Regions from separate parts of the Homo sapiens genome. Here region 2 is linked to region 1. The links are contacts of gene promoters, found by promoter capture Hi-C in blood cells and fetal thymus (Javierre and others, 2016). All regions are on one chromosome and are shown on one strand. The core of a region is centred on a gene start or on the middle of the fragment in contact, and the rest is flanking DNA. Distances in the headings are between cores, read along the strand shown. Region 1 holds the start of MAL (mal, T cell differentiation protein (MAL blood group)). Region 2 overlaps ZNF892 (zinc finger protein 892).

Region 1 (6,006 bases), core at 700-3,199:
ACTCCTTCCACACATCAAATATATACAGCTTCGTATTTACAGTCCATGCAGAGGAGAACTGAGAGGCTTGGGGTCAGCTTTCTCCTCTTCTCTCCCAGGCACCTGCGAGCCCACCCCTAATCTAGAGCATGTGGAAGATGCCTGGAGATGACTATGCATTGCGGGTCTCCTGGGAAGTGAGGAAGGGAGGTGGGGAACAGGGGTGAGGTGGAGAAGTGACTTTCTAAGTCAGCTGAGAGAAGCGTTCTGGGCGAGGGGGAGTTGTTTCTTCTGGAAGCCCCGCTACCGGCAGGCCACAAAGCCACGCTGGAAGAGCAAGCTGCCAGTAGTAGATGGTTCCAAGGTTTCCCACGCCCCTGTAATTTCTGCAGCATTGGCGGGTTGGGTGGGAGTCTCCGGTCACCTTTCCCGCAGATCAGATCGCCCCGTCTAACTGGACTGTTCCTACTCTCAGGGGCACTCCTTCTTGTATGCTGAACTTCTAAAAGGAGGCCAGCGGGGGGCTGGCTCTCTGTAAACGGTGGGGCTGCGTTCATTGGCGTCCAGGGTTTCTTCTAAATGTAACTGCTTTGATTCCGCCTATCCCTAGGATTTCAAGTCACCGGTTCCACCCAGGTTTGGGTTCGACTGGACTTTCACCCTAAGTTCAATGGTAGCCCTGCTCCCAGGCCGCCGCAGCCCTCTTAGCCTCTGCCCGCAAGCCCTCTTTGGATGAACTGACCTGCTCCCTTTGGTATTCACACCCTCCCCCTCCAATCAGGCAATAACAACCTGGGGTCCAATTTTTAAACAGCCAGGCTCCGACATTTTCTTTCCCGCCCAACTCTCCACGCTGACACTTCTGAGGGTGGGGTGCCGGAAAAGGTGTCCCTCAGGCGGTGACGGACCGCACCCACAGGACATACAGGGCACACCCCTCCCAGGTGAAGGCCAGCGGCCCCCGGGGAGTTGAGGCTGAGGGAGGTCACTTCGGCTTCGCGACACCGTGAGCGCTTATCAGGAGTTCTCAGTAGGAAGCGCTTTCCTGCAGCCTCAGGCAGAGACCGTGCGTGCAAGGCGGGACCGACCGCAGGTGCAGAGGCCCCGGGCCTGCCCAAGGTCAGTCGAGGCGCGCGGATCGCTCTCGCCGCCACCCCCCACCCCCCACCCCCCATCTCCTCCACCCCCACCCCGCACACGGGGCAGAAGGACTGCGGCCAAGCAAACGATGGCCTCATTTCCAGATCGAATTGGTCGCAAATACGTTCCCTCGCCAGAAACTTTAAAAGGCCAGAAGAAAATAAACCGGATTCAGCTCCCTCTCATCTCCAAATCTCGGTTGGTAATACTAATGTTTCTCTTGCTGATTTTTTTTTCTTTTTTAACGAAACCTTCTCCCTTGTAAAAGCTGCGCACTTCTACCCAACCGCGCAAAGCGCGGCGGGAGCTTCGGTGGCGCTGCGCGCGTCAAGTGGGCCCCGCGCGCAGCTTTGGGACCAGCGAACCAAGAGCCGTCCCCCCCTGCCCCGCTGCCTACATCTGACCCCAGTTGGGAACCCAGTTTTTCCTCCATAGTCCTGTAGACTGTTCCCCTCATTCTGTTGGTCTAGAAGGGCACAAAGGACCGGAGGTGGGAGGGGACTTCCCTGGCTTAGTCCCCGCCCTGCGCCTGCTGCCCCGATGCTCCCAGAACCTGCGCAGCTAGCGGATCCCGTCCGACAGCTGTGCTGGGCGCCCGAGAGAGCGCACGGCTCAGCCCACCCCGTCCCTTCCCCGGCCAGGAGCCACTCACAAACTCAAAGATGAAGAGCAAGTCGGGCAAGGTGGTGAAGACCGAGAAGCCACTGGGCAGGGTGCTGCCCCCCGTCGCCGCTGCGGGGGCCATGACGGCGTGCTGGCGTCGGCCTTGGGACGGGACGAGCGCCGCTCAGACTCCGCGCAGACCTCTCGCTGGCTCCGCGGAGCCCAGTGGCCTGGGCGCCCCCGCGCGCGGGTTAAGAGCAGGGGAGCCCGGGGCAGAAGAGGGAGGAGCCCCGGCCGCCGCCCAACCCCGCCCCCCGCCCCACGCCCCGGGAGACCCGGCCCGAGCGCCGCGGGCACCGCCCTGAACCTCTTCGAGGCCCCGCTGCGGGCGTCCAGAGCTGGGGACTGTGGGTCTGACTCCTGCGTTCCAGCCGTGGGTGCCACCTCTTGCGGGAAGCAGGGCAAAACCACTTTGGTCAGGCGCTCCTCGTGCCTTTCTCCCTTCGTAGGTGACCAGCATCTCGTAAGAATGATAACCATCAGTAACCGGGACCCCAAACCTTCTCATCAAGGCACCTCTCGGGTCACCATTACTTTAACTTTGAATTTGGGTCTCCTTCATTTTTCCGCTGGATGCGTTAATGTGCGCGACCCACAGCTCCAGGCGGCGGTTTCCTGGCGGAACTGGACCACCGCCACAGGCTGGGGGTCTGCAGTGGGGGATGGGACCGGCCGCGGCCGCCGGCCCCTTCCGCGTCCACTGAGCCGGCGCTGGTTCGGCGCTGGGATCCTGCACCGGGCCTCTCTGCTTGGTGCTGCGCGTCTGCCTGAGAGTAGGAGGTTGCTCCCAGCTGTGCCGGCCCCAGCAGAAGGCTGCTGGTGGTGGTGCTGGGGCAGGTCGGCCTTGAATCCATGCGACAGGAAGGGACGTTACCAGAAGAGATTCATCGCTTTCTCTTGGTCTGGGCAGCCCGGGCCTTTTGAGGGTGGGACCGCTGCTACCCCCACCCCCAGGTTCTTTGCCTGCCTGTTGACTGCCGGTGTTTCATGTTTTGTTTCTCTGTTTCACTATTTTTTATTTTTTGCCTTAAAAAAAAAAGTATTACCATGCAGCAGTTGCCCATTTATTTTAATTTACTATTAATAGTGTGATTGCTGTGTTTCCTCCTACAAACACTGAAGCCTGAAATCCGCCCGAGTCCGGATTCTCGCCTGCCAAAAGGGAATTGGCCCCGCAACCTCCAGCTTAGACTCCCAACTCTTCTTTCTTTCCATTGGCAGCTGCTGCAGGCAGGACAAGGGGCTCCCCTTCTCTCCAGTGGGGCCTTCACCTCTCCCTGCTGCACAATTCTTCCTCCTTCCCAGTCCCTAGGGAGAGAAGTATATTCGTGGACGCATTTTCCAAAGCAAAAGTAGCACGCCCATCAGCTGGCCATTCTAAGTGCCTCTGGAAAGGGGCCAGGCATTTGAAATGAGAAAACCCCACTGTGCCTCTGTGAGCTGCCAGCCCGGACGGCTGCAACCAAGGTGCCATTGTGTCGGGTCCCCAGGGCAGCATCTCTCTGGACACAATGGGCTGTGGGACTTTAGGAGCCCAGGTCCTCATCCACCTTGGGCATCTCATAGCTCGTTAGTTGGACCTGCTGGCCTCTGAGAGGACATCTTCTTCCTCCCCAGGAGACCGTCCTGGGAACAAGCCTTAAAGCAAGGTGGCCACAGGAAGCCGCAGCCTGAAGAGAGGTGAGATGACCCTCAGGCAGTCCAGCGAAAGCTGCTTGGAGATTTCCTATCAGCACATACTAATTAAGAACAAGAAGATCCTATCAACTCCTAATAATGTCCTTACCTGGCCTGGAGGGCTTTTGTTTGTGGTTTGGTTTGGTGATTTCCTACTTATTTCAAGCCTTTGTTGCTAACTCATTCCTACTTGGGCCTGAGCCTTTGGGGAAAGCTCGCTCCCAGGGGCAACTCAGTGGAGCTCAGCAGTCCCAGCCCTCCTTTGATAAGGCAGAGGGGCAGCAATCTCTGAAAGAGGCTTCAGAGGATGAGGAAGGCAGCCCGGCCAGGGTCAAGGGGGTTTGTCCCTATCTCTGTGACCCCCTCCTCCCACCTGGAGTTCTCCGCTCGACGTTCATCTTCCTGACCAGACTCTACCCTCGGCAGGGCATCCTCCAGCCACCCCCATCTGCCCCTCTCCTTCCCCACCCTAGCATATGCTCAGCACCCAAGCAGAGCCCAGCCTCTGGTGAGTGCTCATTAAACCTTAGCCAATGGTGGATGACTCCAGCTTTGTCTGTGCTTGACCACCAGAGGAGGACATGGAAGTGCCCTGTTTGGATGTAAGAAGCACTGGTGAGGAGTGAGGCACTGGTAATAGAGAGACATTGGTAAATAGAGAGGCATTGGTGAGAGAGAGGCGTTGGTGAGACAGAGAGAGGCACTGGTGAGAGAGAGGCACTGGTGTGTGAGAGAGAGAGAGAGAGGCGTTGGTGAGAGGAGGCATTTGTAAAACAGAGGCATTGGTGAGAGAGAGAGACATTGGTAAGAGAGAGGCATTGGTAAGTAAAGATGGGCCTGTCTTCATTCCCCAGCACAGCTTCTGCAGGTGCTCTGGGCCACCTGCTGGTGAATGAGGTGGTTGATACTTATCAGAAGCCCAGGACCATATTTTGGTTTCCAGCAGGATATGAAAAAATAATTTCAGCCAATAATAACTCAGTGAGTATCCTTGGTCTTCCCAGTGGGTGTGAATAAGAGGGTGGGTCTGGGGCTTCTGTCAAATATTAATAACGTGGCCTTGGGTGGGTTTCCACAAAGTAGGAATTGGAAAGTTGCCATTGCAGAGCCAGCCTGGGGAAGGAAGAGGTTACCACCTCCAGTTTGTGTGTGTTCAGGGGGAGGGAGGAGATTGTGGGGAGAGGGACGTGTTCAGGGAAAGATTAATGGGCAGGAGTTGCCCATCCGTAACAGTAGGTGCATTGGTTTTTGAGGTAGGTAAGATGACTCCCATTTTACTGATGAGCTAACAGAGGCTCAGAAGTGTTAAGTAGCTGCCCAAGGGCACAGAGTTGCTGAGCACCTTGAACCTGAGTGACGCTGCACCTCTAAAGCTCCGAGCCCTCGATGAAAACCCTGCTCAAGATGGGCAATTGCCAGTCAAATGCCAGCTCCATGCAGACATCGGCAGCCTCCCAAATCCAGTCTTCATGGTCATCTCAGGTGTGGCCCCAGGCACCTGCCCTGGTGGACAGGGCTTGGGACCTTCACCTCTGGGAACACAAGGAAGTGGGGGTCATCATCCCCATTTATGGATGGCGAGGCCGGGTGCCGACATGAGTTCAGAGAGCTACCCTGAACGCGCACTTCCCCCTAGGGATTTTATTTTTCTCACAGACACAGTCACCCACAGCCCTGGGTTCCATAGAAGGCATGAAGCAGTGAGGGCACCTGCTGGCGGATGGGGGAATGGCAGCCACAGCTGCCATGGCGTCAGCGCAGGAGGGGAACCTGTTACTGAGGGCTTGCTGAGTCCCAGCACTGCCACAGGCACTTTGCCTGCATGGCTTCATTTAATCCCACAGAGGCTTGCTGGTGGGTGTCACCCAACATACAGGCTAGGAATGGGAGGTAATGTGCGCAGGCCACATGGCTGGTGACTAGGCCTCTTGATTCCAGCAGGCAGGCTCTGTGTCTACTGCACAAAATCCACAAACTGGAAAATCTGAAGTGGTGGCTGCTCACCAGGGCACTGTCCTTTGATGGGCCATGGGCTCCGTGTGCCCACTGCCTCCAGGGACAATGATCCGCATGTGCTCTTTTCCCCACCCTCTTGTAGGATCATGTTTTCTAGAACCAGGGAGATGTGGCACTCTGCCACTGTCCGACAAAGTCCTCATGATATTCTGAGCACAAAACAGGCTGGCATTGTCTGGGTGACTTGTGGATGGGGATGGAGGGTAGAGGGTGTGTGAGTAGGAAAGACAGAGTCCCTGCTCCCTAGGAGAGCTCTTTCCAAGAGGGACAGCACGTGAGGCTGAGAGGCACCTGGTCAGGGCCTGTGCTGGGCATGCTTTGTCCATGACTGCAGGCAAAGTGCTCAGAGACGGTGTCTTAGTCTGTTCGGGCTGCTGTAATAAACTACGGTAGACCAGGAGGCTTGTCAACAGCAGGAGCCTGTTTCTCACTGTTCTGGAGGCTGGAAATCCTAGATCAAGGTGTTGCAGATTCCGTGTCTGTTGAGGGTCCACTTTCTGGTTCACAGACGGCACCTTCTTGCTGTGTCTT
Region 2 (5,454 bases), core at 2,627-5,126, 190 kb before region 1:
GATTCAGACAAAAATCCTCAAGAAAAAATGAACAGAGCCTCAGGAACTTGTGAGACTACAACCAAAGAGCTAACATTTCTTTCATTAGAGTCCCAGAAGAAAAGGAGTAGAAGGTGGGGGCTAAAATGTATTTAAAGAGATGAGGGCTGAAAATCTCCCAAATTTGGCAAAAGACATAAACCTACAGATTGAAGAGCTAAGCAAACCCCAAACAGGGTAAACTAAAAGAAATTCACACCAAGATACATCATAGTATAACTTCCTAAAATTAAAAACACTGCACTCAAAATAATATGTCCAATAATCTTCAAAGTTTCAATGAAAAAAATATAAAAAGATGCCACCTGCCTCTACCCAAGAGTAAAATGGTAAAAGGTATTTCAAAATCTTTTCAAGTTTTTCATAATCTAATATGCAGTGTCAGTGCAAATCTACAACTAAACTTTACTATAAGCTATAAAAAAATCTAAGGTACAAACTAGATACAACTGAGGTAAATCTTTGTAAATAAGCACATTCTCAGGTAACTCAGATAACTTAAAACAGTTTGAACACATCAAAGGTCTCTTCTGTACTCAATTTTCTAAGCTGTTGTTCTTGACCCTTGGAATTAACATGATTTAGTAGGCAATGTCTCAATAAGCAAGGTCTAAAAGACAAAAAGTCCAAAAGCAAACACCCTGCATTACCCTGCAGCCAACATTCCTTAGTTGCAGGGTAAGGCTACCCTCACAGAAACTTTTCAACTGACCAACTAGCAAGTCTATATTTCTCATGGTTGTGAATATTCAGTTGAGTAGTTCTCATAATCAACATTTCTTGGGTTCATTCCCCTAGCTCTTTTTTTCTATCCTTTCCCTCTACTTCCTTTGGCTCCTTAAACTTAAGAATGAAGGACAACTTCCCTTCCACCACCACTCCTGACTCTGGACAAACTCATTGTGAATTCTCGATCTCTTTTTTCTACCCATGCAACTTCCCTAAAAGGATAACTTATCTCTTTAAAACTTATATTGTTAGTATTATGAAAATACCTGGCACAGTCAAGATGTCCCGTTTCCACCATGGCACACCCCATTTCTCTCCCAAGGATATGGCAATTTACATACACGTTAGGGTGTTACAAATAATTTTCCTCTTTCCTGAGGGAATGTCAGTGTCCTCTGCCAGAACACTTTTAAAAATGTAAAACTATACTTTCACAGTCTAATCATGTTACCTCCCACATCAGCAATGACTTGTCAATAACTTTTTTGCAACACAGTCTTAAATTTCTTTGTAGACCCCCACAGCAAGTATGGTAAATGCTCAATAACTATGCTCTGAATGTACCACATTTACATAGTCTTTATCCAGTATGAATTCTCTTGTGTTGGCCAAAGGTTAAATGCTCACTAAGAGCTTGGACATATTTCTTGGTTTTCACTCCAGCATGAGTTTTCTGATGTTGAGAGAGGGATGAACTCTGGCTAAAGGCTTTTCCACATTCCTTACACTTGTAGGGCTTTTCTCCAGTGTGAGTTTTCTGATGCTTTGTAAGAGATGAGCTCTGGCTGAATGCTTTTCCACAATCTTTACATTTGTAAGGTTTCTCTCCAGTGTGTGTTCTCTGATGACGAATAAGGGCTGAGCGGTCACTGAAGGCTTTGGCACAATCATTGCATTTATAGGGTTTCTCCCCAGTGTGAGTCCTCTGGTGCTGAGTCAGGGCTGAGCAGTAGCCAAAGGCTTTCCCACATTCGTTACACTCATATGGCCGCTCCCCAGTATGAGTTCTCTGGTGCTGGATAAGACCTGACCGATCACTAAAGGCTTTGCCACATTCGTTACACTTATAAGGTTTCTCTCCAGTGTGAATGACCTGATGCTGGGTAAGGAATGTGCTTTGGCTGAAGGCCTTCCCACATTCATTACACTCATAAGGTTTCTCTCCAGTATGAATTCGCTGATGTTGAGTGAGGTATGAACTCTGATTAAAGGCCTTCCCGCATTCATTGCATTCATAGGGTTTTTCTCCAGTATGAATTATATGATGCCGAATAAGGGCTGAGCGGTGACTGAAGGCTTTCCCACACTCATGACATTCATAGGGTTTCTCCCCAGTATGAATTCTCTGGTGCAGAGTAAGGTGTATGCTCTGGCTAAAGGCTTTACCACATTCGTTACATTCATAGGGTTTTTCTCCTGTGTGAATTCTCTGATGCAAGACAAAAGCTGAGTAGTAACTGAAGGCTTTCTCGCATTCATTGCATTTCCAAGGTTTCTTTCCTGCACAAATTCTCTCATGCCTAATTATATCTGAATTTTGTTTTAAGTTATTTTTAAATGAATCACAATGATGTAGTCTCTCTCCTTGCTGCTGAACAAGTAAGGACCTCTGAGTGCAATTTCTTCTAAATTCATCAGATTGGTAGCTTCTCTCCCTAGAAGATTTCTCAGTGACAGCCTCTTGTATTAAATGTTTCTCATGGTTTTCCTGCTGACTCTCTAAAGAATCCTCACATTCACTAGAACTTTCCTTTGAAAATCTTACAATTAACACCCCAGGAGCCGATTCTTCTTCAGAAATATCCTTCTCTGGAGTTAGCTCCTTGCTTTCTGGTATTGTTTCCCAGTCTGAAATAAGCAAAAACACACATGTGTATCATTTCCTACACTGAGAGAAAAATAACTGCTGTGGTAGGAAATTAATGAAACATGTTTGTTTCATTCTTTGTTAGGAATATTTACAGGGAACACATGAACTTGAAAGCTCTCAAAAATAGTCTTGCAATCTTGAGAGAACACAAGAAAAAAAAGATGACTGGACAAAGAAGTACGACGGCATAAAAGGAGTGTGTGTGCAGGTACTCAACATTCCTCTATGCAGCAGGATAGGAAATAACAAAAAATAACAGAATGAGACTAAGAAGAGGTGATATGGAGAAATAGCAGATTTTTTTAAAAAAGGATCTAGAGGAGATAGATCCTTTAGAGGAGATAGGATCAGAGAAAGATGGTCTTCCAAAGACTCACTGTACCCATCTGACCAGAGCCTTATCATTTCATGCCTCAAGAATGACCATCTTTAGCTAATCTCCTTGCCACCAATCTTTTCCTACTCCAATATGTCCCAACCACTGCTAAAAGACTAATTGCTCAAAACCATCTCCCTTTCACAAAAATCTGTTGGTTCTACTGTCTCAAGATAAGACACAAATTCTAGAAGCTAGCATTCAACATAGTCCAGGTCTACAAACTCAAATGACCACAAAGCTTATTAATTGGAAAGCAACTAATCACCTCTGATTGCTTACCATCACCCTAGACCCAGCAAACTGGAAAGAGTAAAACAGAACCAAGAAGAAAGAAAAAAGAGAGAAAGGAAAGAAAGAGAAAAACAGCAGTGTGTTGGGAGGGGAAGGTCAAAACTCCATGTGTTCAGATGAGTCCCCAACCTCTCAAGATATCTACCCCAAGTTCCTGGGCTTCCTAGTAAGAATTTGAGGGGGAAAAGCTTCATTGCTAAAAATGTTTAAATACTTCCAAGCTTAAATGGTCTTTAACACCCATTCCAATCATGTCTCTACATGAAATAAATTAATACAATACAGTGTTCTCAACTAGATATATTCAGGGAAGTGCCTGGGATTTTAAAGGACAAATAGGTAGAATAGGTTAAAAGCAAATGGACATCCAGCTAAGGGGAGTGGAAAAAATTAAAGCCCCAAATGTTCATGAACACACAGTTAGTGGAGGATAGTGAGGGACTTGCCTATCTGATGTTAAGAGTTCAAGTTGAAGAACAGAGAAGGCAAAAAAGTTAGGCAGACTAACAACGGCTTTGAAAGCAGGTAGAGGAATACAGAGCTGGCAGAGTAAGCAACTCAATGGGGAATCTAGCAGTATTATGCTGCCTCAATTTTACAAGGGTAAGAGTAAAAGAAAGTATAATTAGCCAACAGTCTTTTGCAGTAATCCAGTTTGACAGAAGTAACAGGGTCAAATCCATAACATCTTTCAAAAAAGTTACTAGGACTTAATAGCTATCTTTGCTTAGCATATAGCCAGGTACTGTTTAAAACATTTCTCTTGGATTATTTCCTTTGATCACCACCAAAACAGTATAAGCTCTGTGCTATCATTATCCCCATTTTAATTTAAGTCACAGAGAACACAAGTCATTTGTTAAAGGTCACAAAGCTAATGAGTAGCTAAGATCAGCTTTAAACCAAGGAAGCTTAGTTCCAAAGTCTGCAGTCTTAACCATCATGCTATGCTGCCTCTGCTTAGACAGAGAAGGTGGCAAGGGAAAACCCAGAGATGAATTTACAGTCATTGATCTGAGACTCAAAAAAATGGCATCCAGCAAAGATAAAATAACACATGTAAAAAATCCTGCTTTAGAGCCTTGAACCCAAGCAAGTTATTAACAAACATTAAAATGTTGGTTTCATTTTACCTTATTTGGGAAAAAGAATTGGTTTGAAAGAGTAGAAAGTATTTACTTTCTAAAAAATCAAATTATAACTTTATAAACAGATAACCATCCACAGAGCTAGGATGTGGCATAGGGGTGAGACAGGGACTTCAACTTTTCCATGGGTCTAGCAAAATCTGGACAGGCTCCTCCTCCACAAGCATTTGCATTGACAATCTGGGTTTTACTTGCACTGTTTCCAACACTCACGCTTTTGACTGGCTGCCTTTGAGACTTCTCTCTCCAGCTCTTCCTCATGCTCCAACTGAGAGATTACATCAGGTGTGGAAATTGGAAGCCCTATTCATAGGGAAAGAAAAAGGAGTCTGGTGAAGACCTCAGTGTTCATTCCCTGGTCTTTAGGAACATGGTAAGAGAGGGAGAGAGTGAGGTCAGTTCTCCATTTCTTCCTCAACAGTGTTCACGAGGTAGGAAGATTGATAGGGGTTTGAGTCCCTTATCAATTTTACCTCCCCCTATTTAAAGAATAAGCATCCATTCTCTTAAGAGTTGTTTTCATTAGCACTTTGTCTCCACATCCTTGGTCAAGGAGTTGAGAAGAAGGATGCTACAAGTCCATAAAATAAAGGTGTTTATGTCTAATTCCAGGAGTGTTAAAACTATATCCAGAAACAAAAGGCAGAAATTGCCTGTCTCAGGCCCTACTAGAATTAAGAATCATTGAATATAAGGACCTTGGAGCTCCTAGGAACTGAGGAGGACAAGGTACCACACTGGGTAAATTCACAGGCATTGGGGGAGCCATCCTTACCCAGCAAGACCAGATTCCTAGGCTTCTCAGGCACATCTCCCTGAGGAGAGTTCAGCTGCCTCCACTGGGTGAGAGCCTCGGCCATATCCCTGATCATCAATTCCTGAAAAACCAAACACATTGGTGCTCACCAATGAGCCTCCTTACAGAGGCCTCTGAAGAGGAATAAAACTGACAGCACAGGAGGAGGAAGACAGAAAGGATAAAAAAAGGACAGACAACA

What was found. The method cuts DNA at HindIII sites, captures the fragments that hold promoters and counts their contacts. A CHiCAGO score of 5 or more calls a contact.
Region 2: a fragment that was not itself captured here is called in contact with the fragment with the promoter of MAL in region 1 in 4 of 17 cell types (activated CD4 T cells, naive CD8 T cells, naive CD4 T cells and 1 more); the score reaches 8.6 in activated CD4 T cells.

What each region holds. Positions count from the first base shown.
Region 1 is chr2:95,021,651-95,027,656 of GRCh38, reverse strand. It overlaps MAL (mal, T cell differentiation protein (MAL blood group)), which reads right to left and starts at 1,949. Exons shown (of 4, transcript NM_002371.4): 1 at 1,772-1,949. The coding sequence starts at 1,864. MAL-AS1 (MAL antisense RNA 1) reads left to right here and starts at 628. Exons shown (of 8, transcript XR_007087136.1): 1 at 628-1,098; 2 at 1,224-1,317; 3 at 3,400-3,462; 4 at 4,314-4,440. RefSeq lists enhancers at 842-1,565, 5,072-5,572 and a silencer at 1,920-2,049. The HindIII fragment of the contact is 7,953 bases long and covers 1-6,006 here.
Region 2 is chr2:95,211,498-95,216,951 of GRCh38, reverse strand. ZNF892 (zinc finger protein 892) reads right to left here. Exons shown (of 5, transcript NM_001395961.1): 3 at 5,232-5,334; 4 at 4,670-4,759; 5 at 1-2,616. The coding sequence ends at 1,349. Among named protein-coding and RNA genes, the nearest start is that of ZNF892, 6.7 kb to the right of the region's middle. The HindIII fragment of the contact is 690 bases long and covers 3,532-4,221 here.